Regions from separate parts of the Homo sapiens genome. Here all the other regions are linked to region 3. The links are contacts of gene promoters, found by promoter capture Hi-C in blood cells and fetal thymus (Javierre and others, 2016). All regions are on one chromosome and are shown on one strand. The core of a region is centred on a gene start or on the middle of the fragment in contact, and the rest is flanking DNA. Distances in the headings are between cores, read along the strand shown. Region 1 overlaps NF1 (neurofibromin 1). Region 2 overlaps NF1 (neurofibromin 1). Region 3 holds the start of UTP6 (UTP6 small subunit processome component). Region 4 holds the start of NF1 (neurofibromin 1). Region 5 has its middle 11 kb from the start of RAB11FIP4.

Region 1 (2,700 bases), core at 100-2,599, 540 kb before region 3:
TCAACTTATGATCAATTTTTCAGAAGAGTATGATAAACCTCTGTGATACTTTTCTGCCACAGTCCCTTGTGTATTTGATAATCTTAATGCACACAGTTAGATATCTTATGACTAGCAAGGAGCATTACCATGGTTAAAATCTATTTCATGAAAACATTTTTATTTCCAGCCTATTAGATTAGATTAATTTCTCTCTGGATTTGTCCTCATTTGCTCTTATTCAGTTTTTTTGTTTGTTTGTTTGTTTTGTGAGACGGAGTCTCACTCTGTCTCCAGGCTGGAGTGCAGTGGCGCAATCTTGGCTCACTGCAACCTCTGCCTCCCAGGTTCAAGCGATTCTCCTGCCTCAGTCTCCCGAGTAGCTGAGACTACAGGCATGCAGCACCACGCCCAGCTAATTTTTGTATTTTTAGTAGAAACAGGGTTTCACCATGTTGGCCAGGATGGTCTTGATCTCTTGACCTCGTGATCTGCCCACCTCGGCCTCCCAAAGTGCTGGGATTACAGGCATGAGCCACCGCACCTGGCCTCAGTTTGTTTTTTGATTGGCATTAGTTTATGTAGTGCTACATAAGATGTATATGATCATTTTCTCTGTATGTGGGCTCTCTCCAAATTGATCAAAGTTCCTTGAAGACAGGGTTTCTGTTTCTTCCTTAAACAGTTCCTGGTGCAGTGTTTTAGATACAGGGGGTGCTAAATCAATATGAATTGTATAAACCTTGTTCCAGTTTTTAAGAATTGGGTATTTTATTTATTTCCTTTCACTATTACTTGAATATCTGTCAACATGCAAAGGTTGTCACTTAAAAAATGGGCCTGAAGTTACAGAAATAAGTATATCATACAGAAGTTTTTGCATTTGGATTGCCAGTAACCCTCTGAGCCCTTTACAGTGTCTAGTGAGTGGAATCTAAATGGCAGCTGGAATGATGATGCTCTGCTCATTTTCTCTGTTTTGGAAAATTGGCTAGACATCATTCCTGGTGATTGTATTGTCTCAGTATTACATTCAGTCTGTCTTGTGCATGGCTTTCAGAAAATGCAGGTTCATCTGGAAGCTTTAAGCTGAATAGAACTCCCTGTTGTAAGTCCTATGGTAGTCTATAAATATTACTCCACTCCCCTTTTTTAATGATAAGTAATACAAAGGAAGAAAAATAGTAAATTAAGTCCAAACAAAATTAATATTTTTGGCTTCAGATGGGGATTTACTTAAAAAAAAGGAACTAAAATAATTTCCTATTTTCCATTACAGCAAACACAAATTCCAGACTATGCTGAGCTTATTGTTAAGTTTCTTGATGCCTTGATTGACACGTACCTGCCTGGAATTGATGAAGAAACCAGTGAAGAATCCCTCCTGACTCCCACATCTCCTTACCCTCCTGCACTGCAGAGCCAGCTTAGTATCACTGCCAACCTTAACCTTTCTAATTCCATGACCTCACTTGCAACTTCCCAGCATTCCCCAGGTCAGTAAATGTGATCTTTATATGACTTTGAGCAACAATATAAGACACCAACATTAGGAATTCCCTTGTGATCAGTTTATAGCAAATTTTGCTCCTTTTTCTTATGAGATTCACCTTACATTTCTTCTTTACCTTGTAACTGACTTGACTTTTGTTATTCTATGAAGCTTTCTACTTTCAAACAAGTTGTACATAAGACAGTAAAATGTTAAAATGTCCACATGATATTCCAAGGTTGACAAGTTTGTAGAGTTTGGGCAGGAAGAGGAACTTAAAACACATTATTCTGTAAGTGAACAGAACTATAATTTATTTACTAGATATACTAACATTGCCCTAAGGGCCTCTTTCTCTGTCTCTGATACAGCATACTATATCAAAAAAAAAAAAAAAAAAAAAAAAAAAGAAGAAGAAGAAGAAACACAAAATCTATTAGGTACCTCACTTTCCTGCTGCCAGCAATAACTCAACCATCCATAGACCATCCTGAAAATCTGGAAGTAAATAAATAATCAAACAAAAAATTCATCTCAAGAAAATAACATCTTAAAGCCCATAAGCATATATATACCAATTCGTAATGCAACTTAGATTTGAATACACTGAGAAATACTAATAGCTAATAGCTCCAGTGGGACTGAGATAAACAAGGTGGGAGAAATGGCAAACCTACAGAACTCTGGACTTATTCAGTGTCATAGTGAATGGTTTCATACAACTCTGGTTGACCCTGGAGGTGCTATTCATTATAGAACTTAAACTATTGTGTGTGTTATTATGACAGTGAGTAATGAAGGAAAGCTTTTGTTATGGTTGTGTTTTCTATTTAGAAAGATATTCTTCTAAAATGGTTAAAAATAAAAGAAACTTTAGTTGTTTAACGTTCCATTATCTGAAAAGTTCACTTATGAAACACATCATTGTATAAGGAAAAGTTACTATATATAGTTCTTTTAAGTGTTAGCATAAATTTAAAAAAAATCCAATGACATAACTATTCTGTGATATTCAAGATCAATAAATAGAATTCCCAGTTTATGATCTCAGTTTTGCATGAACATTTCAACTTATGTAATTTTGAAGGTTCTGAAGAATTTGGCAATACCCAATTCATATTATAAACTATTATGTAATTAACTATATTCTATTAAATTCTGCTTAACAACAAAGCTTTGGTCAGCAGAGGAAACAAATTTTATTTCCACATTTGTCAGTCGCCTTACAA
Region 2 (2,700 bases), core at 191-2,690, 570 kb before region 3:
TAGTACAGATGTCTGAACACTTTATAGCAGTACAATAATTAAAACATACATGTGCAAGAATCAGCCATCAGATCAGTTTAAGAGAAACAGATTGATAAAGAAGCATCACAAACTGATGAGGGAGAGATTAAATCATTTAATAAATGAGGCTGGGAAATGACTTAAATTAGGTCTTCGTCTTCACCGTACACCATAAGATACCAAGTATGTTCTGCCTGTATTTAAGAGTTGAGTAGGGCTGTGTGTGGTGGCTCTCGCCTGTAATCCCAGCACTTTGGGAGGTTGAGGCAAGAGGATTGTGGCAGGAGGATTGCTTGAGCCCCAGAGGTCAGGGCTATAGTGAGCTATCATCGTACCACTGCACTCCAGCCTGGATGATAGAGTGAGACCCTTCTCTATTAAAAAAAAAAAAAAAAAAAAAAAAAAAAAAAAAAAGTTGTATATAAAAGCTTGGAACCATTTTAAAAAGAAGAGGAACAAGTGAATATTTAATTGCTTTCTAGATGAGTAAGGACATATGAAGTAAAAAAGTGATAGGATGAAACAAAGGAAATAGCGAACAGATTTGACTACATAAAACTTCAAAACATAGCTACTCAAAAATAAACACAAGTGAAGATAATTAAAAACTAGGAAATACACTTGGAGCAAATATGAGAAATGATTAATATCCTTAATCGGCCAGACGCGGTGGCTCACGCCTGTAATCCCAGCACTTTGGGAGGCTGAGGTGGGTGGATCACAAGGTAAGGAGTTCGAGACCAGCCTGGCCAATATGGTGAAATCCCCTCTCTACTAAAAATACAAAAATTAGCCGGGCTCGGTGGTACATGCCTGTAGTCCCAGCTACTCAGGAGGCTGAGGCAGGAGAATTGCTTGAACCCAGGAGGCAGAGGTTGCAGTGAGCCGAGATCACTCCACTGCACTCCAGCCTGGGCAACAGAGGGAGACTCTGTCTCAAAATAAATAAATGAATGAATAAATGAATGAATGAATGAATAAAATCCTTAATCATGAAGGGTGCTGACCGATTAATAAAAAGTGGATTAACAGTAACATACAGATCATGGTTTTTTTTTTTTTTTTATTATACTCTAAGTTTTAGGGTACATGTGCACATTGTGCAGGTTAGTTACATATGTATACATGTGCCATGCTGGTGCGCTGCACCCACTACTGTGTCATCTAGCATTAGGTATATCTCCCAATGCTATCCCTCCCCCCTCCCCCGACCCCACCACAGTCCCCAGAGTGTGATATTCCCCTTCCTGTGTCCATGTGATCTCATTGTTCAATTCCCACCTATGAGTGAGAATATGCGGTGTTTGGTTTTTTGTTCTTGCGATAGTTTACTGAGAATGATGGTTTCCAATTTCATCCATGTCCCTACAAAGGATATGAACTCATCATTTTTTATGTTTTTTAAAAAAGAATATTTGTACAAAAAAAGAAAAAAGCCAGGCACCATGGCACATGCCTGTAATCCCACCTGCTCAGGAGGATCGCTAAGCCCAGGAGTTTGAGACCAGCCTGGACAACATAGTGAGGCCCCCATCTCAAAAAGAATATTTATATTTTAAGAAATTCACTAATAAAAGCCAATTGAAAGAATAGTGAGATAATCAGTTATCAGCTTGGCAAAGATTTTTTTTTTAAGATCCATTCCTGGTGGTCTGTGGAATTGTGAGTAGAGGCAATTTTTCTAGAAAGGCATTTGGAAGTGGATAACAAGACCTTAAGACTATTCATACCTTTTGGCCTCATAATTCTGCTTTTTAGCATTTATCCTAAAGAATTAATGTTAAAATGTTTATTATAGCATTATTTTTATGTAGATTTTTAAATTGAGGTATATCTTGTCATCAGTAAAGTGCAAGATCTTAAGTCAACAGCTTGATGAACTTCTACATGCAAATACATCATGAAAGTATCTCCAGATCTAGACATAGAACATTTCTAGCATCCAGAGGGATATTCTCAGTACCCTCCCTTCACCAAGAGTAAACACTATTATGACCTCTATTGCACAGATTTATTTTGCCTACTTTAGAACTTCATATGACATTATTTATAATAGCAAAAAAATGAACAGGCCAAAAGTCAAAGAATAAGGAACTGATTAAATTATTGGTTCTCCATCTGATGGAATAATATGAAGCCATTGAAAAATGGCTTTGTTACAGAATTTCAGTTTGGAAGATGAAAAGGTTCTAGAGATGGATGGTGGTGATGGCTGCACAATGATTTGAATGTACTCAGTGCCACTGAACTGTGCCCTTCAAAATGGGTAAAGCCACGGAACTGTACATTTAAAAATAGTTAAAATGGTAAATTTTGTGTTGTGTATATTTTACCACAATTTTAAAAACTCTTTGAGACTTTAGGTAAAGTGTATAGATAAATTTTTGTACAATTTTTGTCTTATAAATGTGAAGCTTTTTCAAGTAAGTTTAAAAGAAGTTTGCAGAATTTGTAATGTTGAATAAATAATCTCAGTATAGGCCAGGGGTGGTGGCTCACGCCTGTAATCCCAGCACTTTGGGAGGCCGAGGCGGGCAGATCACGAGGTCAGGAGATTGAGACCATCCTGGCTAACACAGTGAAACCCCGTCTCTACTCAAAATATGAAAAAAAATTTGCCGGGCGTGGTGGTGGGCGCCTGTAGTCCCAGCTACTCGGGAGGCTGAGGCAGGAGAATGG
Region 3 (2,700 bases), core at 58-2,557:
CCTGCCTCAGACTCCCGAGTAGCTGGGACTACAGGCGCTCACCACCACGCTCAGCTAATTTTTGTATTTTTAGTAGAGACGGGGTTTCACCATATTGGCCAGGCTGGTCTCGAACTCCTGACCTCGTGATCCACCCACCTCGGCCTCCCAAAGTGCTGGGATTACAGGCGTGAGCCACAGCGCCTGGCTGGTATTAATAAAGACTTCTTTTACTCCAAGTTCAGGTCACTTAAATTTTAATAATAAATTTCTTTCCGAAATTCCTCTTATTTCTGAGTTCTCAACATGTAAATTTTTTTAAAAATCTAAATTGCGTCTGCCTTAAAAGACTTATTACTACGAAGGACTTACGGGAGAAGATTCAGAGTCCTTAGCTAAGGAATGAACATATGACAAATATATATTAGGAGAATTTAATGCAAGATGTGCAAGACAGGTGTCTTTAGTAATGGTAACATTAACCTTAACTGAGCACTTTCTAAGCGTCCACACTGCTTTGTTTTGTGTTTCATTAACGAATGCTTACTTTGAAGCTCTGAGTCACATTACTACATTCAGACGTTGCAAAACAAAGCAACAGTCACAGAAACCATTAAAAACTATTAAACATAATTTTAACACGCTACTGAATGTCTACCATGTGCCAGGCGCTGTAGTTAGGCTCTGGAGTAGCATATGAAACTGATTTCAATGGTCCCCACCTTCAAGTCTAGTTAGGAATTTATCCACTCCCCCTGGGCTCTCACAGCACTCTGTTCCCATCCCTACAGCAGTACAAGGTACTACAATCAACTTACAGTACACTGTTATCAAAATATTTAATTTGTCTGTCTCCCCCACCACACTCTGCCCAATTAGCTCCTAATGAGCAGGAATCCTGGGTTTATCACCTTTACAGCCCTAAGACCCGGCTCCATGAAGGGCTGTCAAAACGTCTGATGGGTAAGTAGACGGACGGATTACCTTGCAACGAATGAAAAATTAATTCTGGACATCACCGAAAACGAGAAATGGGCTTCCACCACGTTAGGAAAAGTAAACACAGGTCGAGCGTCCCCACATCTAGCCCCTGCCACACACTCCCAACCTCCCCTCAGGCCGCCTCAGCTCTTCCCTCTCCCCAACCCTCTCTCACTTAATCTCCGCATGACTGAACAGTCCAATGCGCTCCAGCTGTTCCAATTCCGGGAGCCGATCTTCTATGCGTTCCTGAATTATCTCTGCCATGAGGTCCGAGGTCTACAACCCCGCGGGTAGCTTCTCAACAGCGAACACGAGCAGGAAGCTCCCGGTTTCAGGTTCGGAGACCCAGCCCTACCACCGACGCGTCCGGACGTAACGTGCTCCCTAGGTCCCGCCTTTTCCGCTTCCGCCACCTCCTACTTAGGGGAAGGCCCTTCGGCTTCTACAGCCACCGTCCCCTCCCTGTGGCCGATTGTGGGATTGCAGCGAGAACCCGCCCTGGTCTTGGGCAGGACGACTCTAGCGGACAGGAGTTGAGGGGCGGGGCTAGACGGGAGGGAGGGGTTAAGTGCGCGCGCCGCTAGACTTGGACAGCCATCAGGAAAAGCGCCTCCAGGTGTAGAGAGGTGGGCTGCTCAAGCCTGAAAGGGACACGAGATGCATTTTCTTCAGAATATTGTCTCCCATCCCACGTCCTGACTTCCCAACACCAAGAACAACAACAAAAAAAAAAGCAAAGGAGGAGGATATTGTACAATTAAACATTTTTGAAAGCCGGTCGCGGTGGCTCATGCCTGTAATCCCAGCAGTTTAGGAGGCCGAGGCGGGCAGATCACCTGAAGTCAGGAGTTCGAGACCATCCTGGCTAACATGATGAAACCCCGTTTCTACTAAAAATGCAAAAAAATTAACTGGGCGTGCTGGCACGCGCCTGTAATCCCAGCTACTCGGGAGGCTGAGGCAGGAGAATCGCTTGAACCTGGGAGGCCGAGATCGCGCCATTGCACTCCAGCTTGGGCAACAAGAGTGAAACTCCGTCTCTAAATAAATAAATAAATAAAATAGAATTGTTTATTATTTAAATCAATATCCTGTCTTTGTAAGCAATAGCTTTCAAAATATATGTCCCTAGGTGAATATCAGACACTATAAATTCTTTTTAGAAAAGGAGATTTTTGTATTGAAAAGTTTGAGAATTACCAAAATAAATCACTAAGGTATAGACACCCTCCTTAAACCATTGCCCAAGCAACTTAGCATTTCTAAGAGAAACACCAGGCAACACAGCTTGGAGGCAATATTGCTGGTATAGTTAGTAAACCTCAAATGATAACTACATGGTTCAGTTCTTTTTTAGTTCTGGATATAAAAAAGCCAAAGCAGCAGTTCTTGCTAAATCTGCTTATTTCAACATTCACATTAGCACCTGGATCCTGTGTGTGATTTATGAAAGGAGAATGGGCTCAGCAAAACCATGTTCCACCTCTGTGCCTTGCATTTCTTTCTTTCCTTTCACATTTTACCCACTCATCTCAGAACTGAGACGAGGGTTGGCTTGTGCTACACCATTTCTTGAATCCTTCAGCTGTAAGACATGTCAGAAGTGGAAGGAAATCACGAATGTAAGACAAAGATAGAATTTATTTGTAAAAGTAAAATCTCTGGGGCTGTGTTAACAGTAAGAGTGGAGATGACACTAGATAGTAAACTCCATATGGGCAGGGAATTTTTTCCTTT
Region 4 (2,700 bases), core at 156-2,655, 810 kb before region 3:
GTGGCTCACACCTGTAATCCCAGTACTTTGGGAGGCTGAGGTGGGCGGATCATGAGGTCAGGAGTTCAAGACCAGCCTGGCCAATATGGTGAAACACCGTCTCTACTAAAAATACAAAAATTAGCCGGCTGTGGTGGCGCATGCCTGTAGTCCCAGCTACTCGGGAGGCTGAGGCAGAAGAATCACTTCAACCGGGAGGCGGAGGTTGCAGTGAGCCGAGATCGCGCCTCTGCACTCCAGCCTGGGTGACAGGGTGAGACTCTGTCTTAAAAAAAAAAAAAAAAAATTAGTCATTCCAAAGTCCAATGTCAGACATAGATTATCCGTTGTTTTGGATGTAATCCTCTTCCTGGAAAACTGGCACAACCCAATTACACATGAAATCCTTTCAACTCTGGTATTGGAGGTATAGGGAAGGACTTTGTTTTAGGAGACCCATAGTCTACCTCTATTGTTCTAGGAGTTAAACCACGTTGGTTTACATCCTGACTTTGCCACCTGTCAACTCAGACCTTGGGCAAATCAAAGGTCTGAGGGAGGAGTGCAGGCTCCCAGCGTTCCCACGGGGGTGGGGACGTGACGTATTCATCAGTTCATGAAGTTAATGATATGTATTGAAAAGGTTTGTTCAAGGATTTAAATAAGACGATGAATATATTGAATTAATAATGAATGCAAGGCCTTAAAGGTGTTTTGAGGGTGGTGAAACTTGAATCTCTCATCAACTGTGCAATAGTTATATTAACTTGGATGGCTATGAGTTTTGCAGAGGAAAGCTGGGCTTAAATCCCAATGCTAGACCTGGTGGCTAGACCTTGATTGCCACCGGGTCTAGCATTGGGATTTAAGCGACCTCTAAAAAAAAAAAATCACGGAATCTCTCTTTGGCCTTCCTTTTTTGTTTCTCAGCAGTCTACCAAGCTACGAAGAACCTGAAAATCGGAGGTCGTGTACCTTATTTTTTCTGAGAGCTTAAGCTGAGAGCACAGCCTCCCCAGGAGATTAGCGGCAGAGATCCGCGCGCTGGGAGAAAGGCTAGCCCCAGGGCGCCCTAACTTCCAACTCCGGGAGCAATCCAAACCCGGAGGCCGGCGGGGGAGGGGACAGCTGTAGGGGGCGGTGGGGATGGGAGTGGATGCTCCCGGGTCAGCTCTGGCACTCGCCAGCTGAGCCCAGCGCCAGTCTAGGTGAGCCCCACGGCGGTGAGGGACGCTCGCCAGACGGCCCAGAGGAGTTAGATGACGTCACCTCCAGGAGGACTCGCTTTTTCATTAATGAAACCGGCCGGCGCGGGCGCATGCGCGGCAGGCCGCCTTCCCTCTCGCTTCCCCCTCCCCTTTCCCAGCCGCGCTCTCAATCTCTAGCTCGCTCGCGCTCCCTCTCCCCGGGCCGTGGAAAGGATCCCACTTCCGGTGGGGTGTCATGGCGGCGTCTCGGACTGTGATGGCTGTGGGGAGACGGCGCTAGTGGGGAGAGCGACCAAGAGGCCCCCTCCCCTCCCCGGGTCCCCTTCCCCTATCCCCCTCCCCCCAGCCTCCTTGCCAACGCCCCCTTTCCCTCTCCCCCTCCCGCTCGGCGCTGACCCCCCATCCCCACCCCCGTGGGAACACTGGGAGCCTGCACTCCACAGACCCTCTCCTTGCCTCTTCCCTCACCTCAGCCTCCGCTCCCCGCCCTCTTCCCGGCCCAGGGCGCCGGCCCACCCTTCCCTCCGCCGCCCCCCGGCCGCGGGGAGGACATGGCCGCGCACAGGCCGGTGGAATGGGTCCAGGCCGTGGTCAGCCGCTTCGACGAGCAGGTAACCGGCCCGTGGCGGGCGGGAGGTGGGAGCGGAGTGGGGGTGGGGACAGAGTAGGTGAGGGGAGGTAGGAGCGGCCGCCTCCCCCGCGGCTGCCTCAGGCTCTGGAGGAAAGGAAGGGAAGGGAAGAGAAGGGAAGGGGGGATAAGTGGGGGTGGCCAAGGCGGGAGGTGAGGGGTAGGAGGGGACAGCTGGGAGCTTGGGCACCCTTTCCCTCCTAAGTCGGGGGGTGGGGCCTTGTCCCTGACCAGCCTCCGACCCTCCATCCCCTTTATCCCAGCCCTTCCGCTTGGAAATGGGGATGAGTGACCTGGGGGCGCCTTTAGGGGCGCGCCATCTGGATTTAATAATTACCCCCTTACTTTTGTTTTTGAGCAGAGGTGGGTAACGTTTAGGGGTTCTCTCTTCCTCTTCCCTCCGTGACCCTCCTAACTGGGGACGAGCGAACCCTAAGGCCTGTCTTATATACCCTCAATAGGAGAACGATAACATTCCGCCCCTCCCCCAGTTTCTTCAGCTTCCTCTCCTGGAGGGGGAAGAGCAGAAGAAAGCAAGGAAGGCACAGGTTTTCTTACTTTCTGCTCCATCGTCTCATCCTGCCCCGAGAGCTTCAAGTGCACACTCACTGCACATCTTTGTGATGCCCTACAACGTCGTCCCCCATATCCTGATGACACAGACTGCCTTTTTTTTTTATTGCCGTTTGCAGTGGAAACCGTGGTTCTGAAATATCTTCCCCTTCCTTGATAATTGCAGTCTCTTCCCCCCCCCCTTTTTTTTTTGCCAGCGGTCTGAGGATGTGATGCATTCTCGAGTGAGAATGTTGGGGAGTAAAGGGGAGAAGGGTGAAAGGAAAGTGAGAAACTGCTTCAGAGCCACCGACAACAGAGCAAAGCCAGCTG
Region 5 (2,772 bases), core at 170-2,669, 520 kb before region 3:
GTCTTTATGCTGACAGTCAAGCTAATAGTGATCAAGAGCATTATGCTTCTGGGGTTACAAGGTTCAGAACTTGCCCCATTGGCCACTTCCTCTATATAAAATAAGACAGTCACATTGGAATCTTAATAGGGCCCTTTCCTGCTCAGAAGTTCAGAAAGCATTGCCTAAATTAATATTTTTAAGGGAAGAAAATGTTGACAGATGCAACCTTAGCTGATTGTTCAAAAAAAGTTTTTCCTTTGGTTATAATTGTAAATACAAAAGAAGAAAGCTTGGCCTTTGTCCTCTATGACCTCATGACTTAGTGGGGAAAACAGCCACACAAACAATGACCACAGTGTCCCAAGGTGTGGGTGGGGTTTTTAGAGGGTCATGGAGTGACTGGCATGGTTGGCAACTGAGGAGGTGGGTCTTAAAGAATGACCAAGAAGTTTGTCCAGGTTGAAATGTGTCCAGTGAGCAGTTGAAAATAGGGTTTTGGAGTATTTAATGGACAGAAGGTAATCAAGTCCGTTAACAGACTGGCCCAGAGACGGATCACGAGGTCAGGAGATCGAGACCATCCTGGCTAACACGGTGAAACCCCGTCTCTACTAAAAATACAAAAAATTAGCCAGGCATTGTGGTGGGCGCCTGTAGTCCCAGCTACACGGGAGGCTGAGGCAGGAGAATGGCATGAACCTGGGAGGCGGAGCTTGCAGTGAGTGAGATCGTGCCACTGCACTCCAGCCTGGGTGACAGAGCGAGACTCCATCTCAAAAAAAAAAAAAAAAAAGAGAGAGAGGAGACTGGCCCAGAGAGGGCAAGTAGCAGATAAGTGTTTAGGCAGAAAGCAGCACACCACAGGAGATTGGCTTCTCGTGTTATTTTTCTCCATTCTTTTGTCCCACGTTGGGGAATGCAGCTTAATTTTCTACATTTACAAAGTATATGGGCCAGGCGCAGTGGCTTACGCCTGTAATCCCAACACTTTGGGAGGCCGAGGTGGGCAGATTACCTGAGGTCAGGAGTTGGAGACCAGCCTGACCAACATGGAGAAACCCCATCTCTACTGAAAATACAAAATTAGCTGGACATGGTGGCACATGCCTGTAATCCCAGCTACTCGGGAGGCTGAGGCAGGAGAATCGCTTGAACCAGGAAGCAATGGTTGCAGTGAGCCGAGATCGCGCCATTGCACTCCAGCCTGGGCAACAAGAGCGAAACTCCGTCTCAAGAAAAAATAAAAACAAAAAATACGTGAAGATATGCCTTAGCCCCAGATCACAAAAATAGCAACACTTTTTCTATCCTGGCAATTATAAATGTTTTGAGTCTGGCCCAAAGTTGAAGTAGAAAGAAATTGATGGTAAAGAGATACTTTCTTTGCAATTTGGTAATTTGTGAATGGAAGGCAGAAAGGAATTAGGTGATCTGTGCCTTCATTAAAAAAGACTCCACAAATACCACCCTTACTCATATCTAGGATTCTACAGGAGACAAAAATTCATTATCAAAATACCAAGTCTTTTTGAGTGTGCAGCAGTCATTCAGCAAAACATTTTCTGGGTGCCTTGTTGTCACTCAATTTGAGCACCAGCACCTCTTGGAAATGCTTTCTGATCTCCCATTGGCTGAGAGCCCTTCTCTTGCTTCTGTGACAGCTTCTCTATACAACAACTTTGTAATCATCAACTATCTTCCTATGTCCCTGGTTAGGATTATGAGCCTCCCAGTGTAGGGAACATGCTTTGTTCAAAGGTGCTCAATAGATAGTTGTTGAATAACACTGAAGGCTTTATGTTATAAAGAACTATATAAATAGAATGGGAAAATCCCCATACACAATAGCAACCCCAATGCAAAATCCCTAACAAAATAGAGGTGACCTGTGTAATAAAGACCTATTGAAAATTCTAATCCAGACTTTGAGATTTCACAGATCAGTAAAATTTCCAAAATACATTTCATCAACTTATGCATTTAGAAACAAGAAAAAAATATATCTAACATAGTTTTTTTGTAAAACGCCATTTCAACTCTGAGTAGTGGGGGAGGGAATCACAGGATAAAGTACAGTTCTTTAAAAGAAATTAGTTTTGCTTTATAAAAGTCACTATGTTGTCCTCAGTTTTCTCTCATTGCTGCTTATTTTTCTCCACACAGCACTGCTCAGCACGCAGGCATGTGAGGAAGCTGGGCTTAAAGGAGACTCCAGCAAATGGAGAGACAGACCACAGTCCTGGGTTGGAAAGCTGAATATCGTTGAATGCCAGATCTTCCCAAATAAATGAACTGGCTTAATACAATTCTGATCAAGATGCCAACAAGAAGAGAGTGTATCCAGACAAAATGATCTTTGGAAAATATTCTTCACCTTGTGGAATAAACAGGAAAGCATGGCTAACAACGGGTTGTCGAAAACTTCCTTATTAGGTAGTAAAACAAATTTTTAAATGCTTAAATACTAATGGTAATTAGAGTAAATATAAAGTGGAACAGGCTAGAAGGTCCAGATTATGCTTTGATTTTTTTATTTAAAAAGACAAGCATGAGTAACTCCCAAAGTGTATTGGCTTCAAAGCCACAAAAGCTTATTTCTCACCTCTGCTACATGTCCATCACCCGTTATCAGGAGGCTCTGCTCACCCTGATGTCTTGGGACTCCAGAGTGAGTGATCAGCCATCTCTGATCACTCACTCATTTGATCTACAAATGGCTAGCCATCATGCCAGAGGGAAGGAGCTCAGGCTGTAATGTCCAGCCGCTGTGATGATGGAAATGTTCTGCTG

Evidence for each region. Contacts are between HindIII fragments. The CHiCAGO score rates a contact against its expected background, and 5 or more counts as called.
Region 1: a contact is called between a fragment that was not itself captured here and the fragment with the promoter of UTP6 in region 3, in 1 of 17 cell types (M2 macrophages). The highest score is 5.5, in M2 macrophages.
Region 2: a contact is called between a fragment that was not itself captured here and the fragment with the promoter of UTP6 in region 3, in 1 of 17 cell types (neutrophils). The highest score is 5.4, in neutrophils.
Region 4: the fragment with the promoter of NF1 here is called in contact with the fragment with the promoter of UTP6 in region 3 in 1 of 17 cell types (erythroblasts); the score reaches 6.2 in erythroblasts.
Region 5: a contact is called between a fragment that was not itself captured here and the fragment with the promoter of UTP6 in region 3, in 3 of 17 cell types (M2 macrophages, M1 macrophages and M0 macrophages). The highest score is 8.5, in M2 macrophages.

What each region holds. Positions count from the first base shown.
Region 1 is chr17:31,359,229-31,361,928 of GRCh38, forward strand. NF1 (neurofibromin 1) reads left to right here. Exons shown (of 58, transcript NM_001042492.3): 57 at 1,259-1,475. Among named protein-coding and RNA genes, the nearest start is that of RAB11FIP4, 31 kb to the right of the region's middle. The HindIII fragment of the contact is 581 bases long and covers 1,060-1,640 here.
Region 2 is chr17:31,331,505-31,334,204 of GRCh38, forward strand. The region is part of intron 39 of NF1 (neurofibromin 1); the gene reads left to right. Among named protein-coding and RNA genes, the nearest start is that of EVI2A, 11 kb to the left of the region's middle. The HindIII fragment of the contact is 1,986 bases long and covers 448-2,433 here.
Region 3 is chr17:31,900,401-31,903,100 of GRCh38, forward strand. It overlaps UTP6 (UTP6 small subunit processome component), which reads right to left and starts at 1,308. Exons shown (of 19, transcript NM_018428.3): 1 at 1,136-1,308. The coding sequence starts at 1,227. RefSeq lists enhancers at 783-932, 976-1,567, 1,253-1,302. The HindIII fragment of the contact is 12,725 bases long and covers 1-2,700 here.
Region 4 is chr17:31,093,572-31,096,271 of GRCh38, forward strand. It overlaps NF1 (neurofibromin 1), which reads left to right and starts at 1,406. Exons shown (of 58, transcript NM_001042492.3): 1 at 1,406-1,798. The coding sequence starts at 1,739. It overlaps MIR4733HG (MIR4733 host gene), which reads right to left and starts at 1,919. Exons shown (of 4, transcript NR_186435.1): 1 at 1,656-1,919. MIR4733 (microRNA 4733) reads right to left here and starts at 854; the gene lies at 779-854. RefSeq lists a promoter at 986-1,411, cis regulatory regions at 1,019-1,258, 1,485-1,795, an enhancer at 1,399-1,416 and silencers at 1,651-1,720, 1,761-1,810. The HindIII fragment of the contact is 8,302 bases long and covers 1-2,700 here.
Region 5 is chr17:31,379,728-31,382,499 of GRCh38, forward strand. No RefSeq gene overlaps it. Among named protein-coding and RNA genes, the nearest start is that of RAB11FIP4, 11 kb to the right of the region's middle. The HindIII fragment of the contact is 2,301 bases long and covers 270-2,570 here.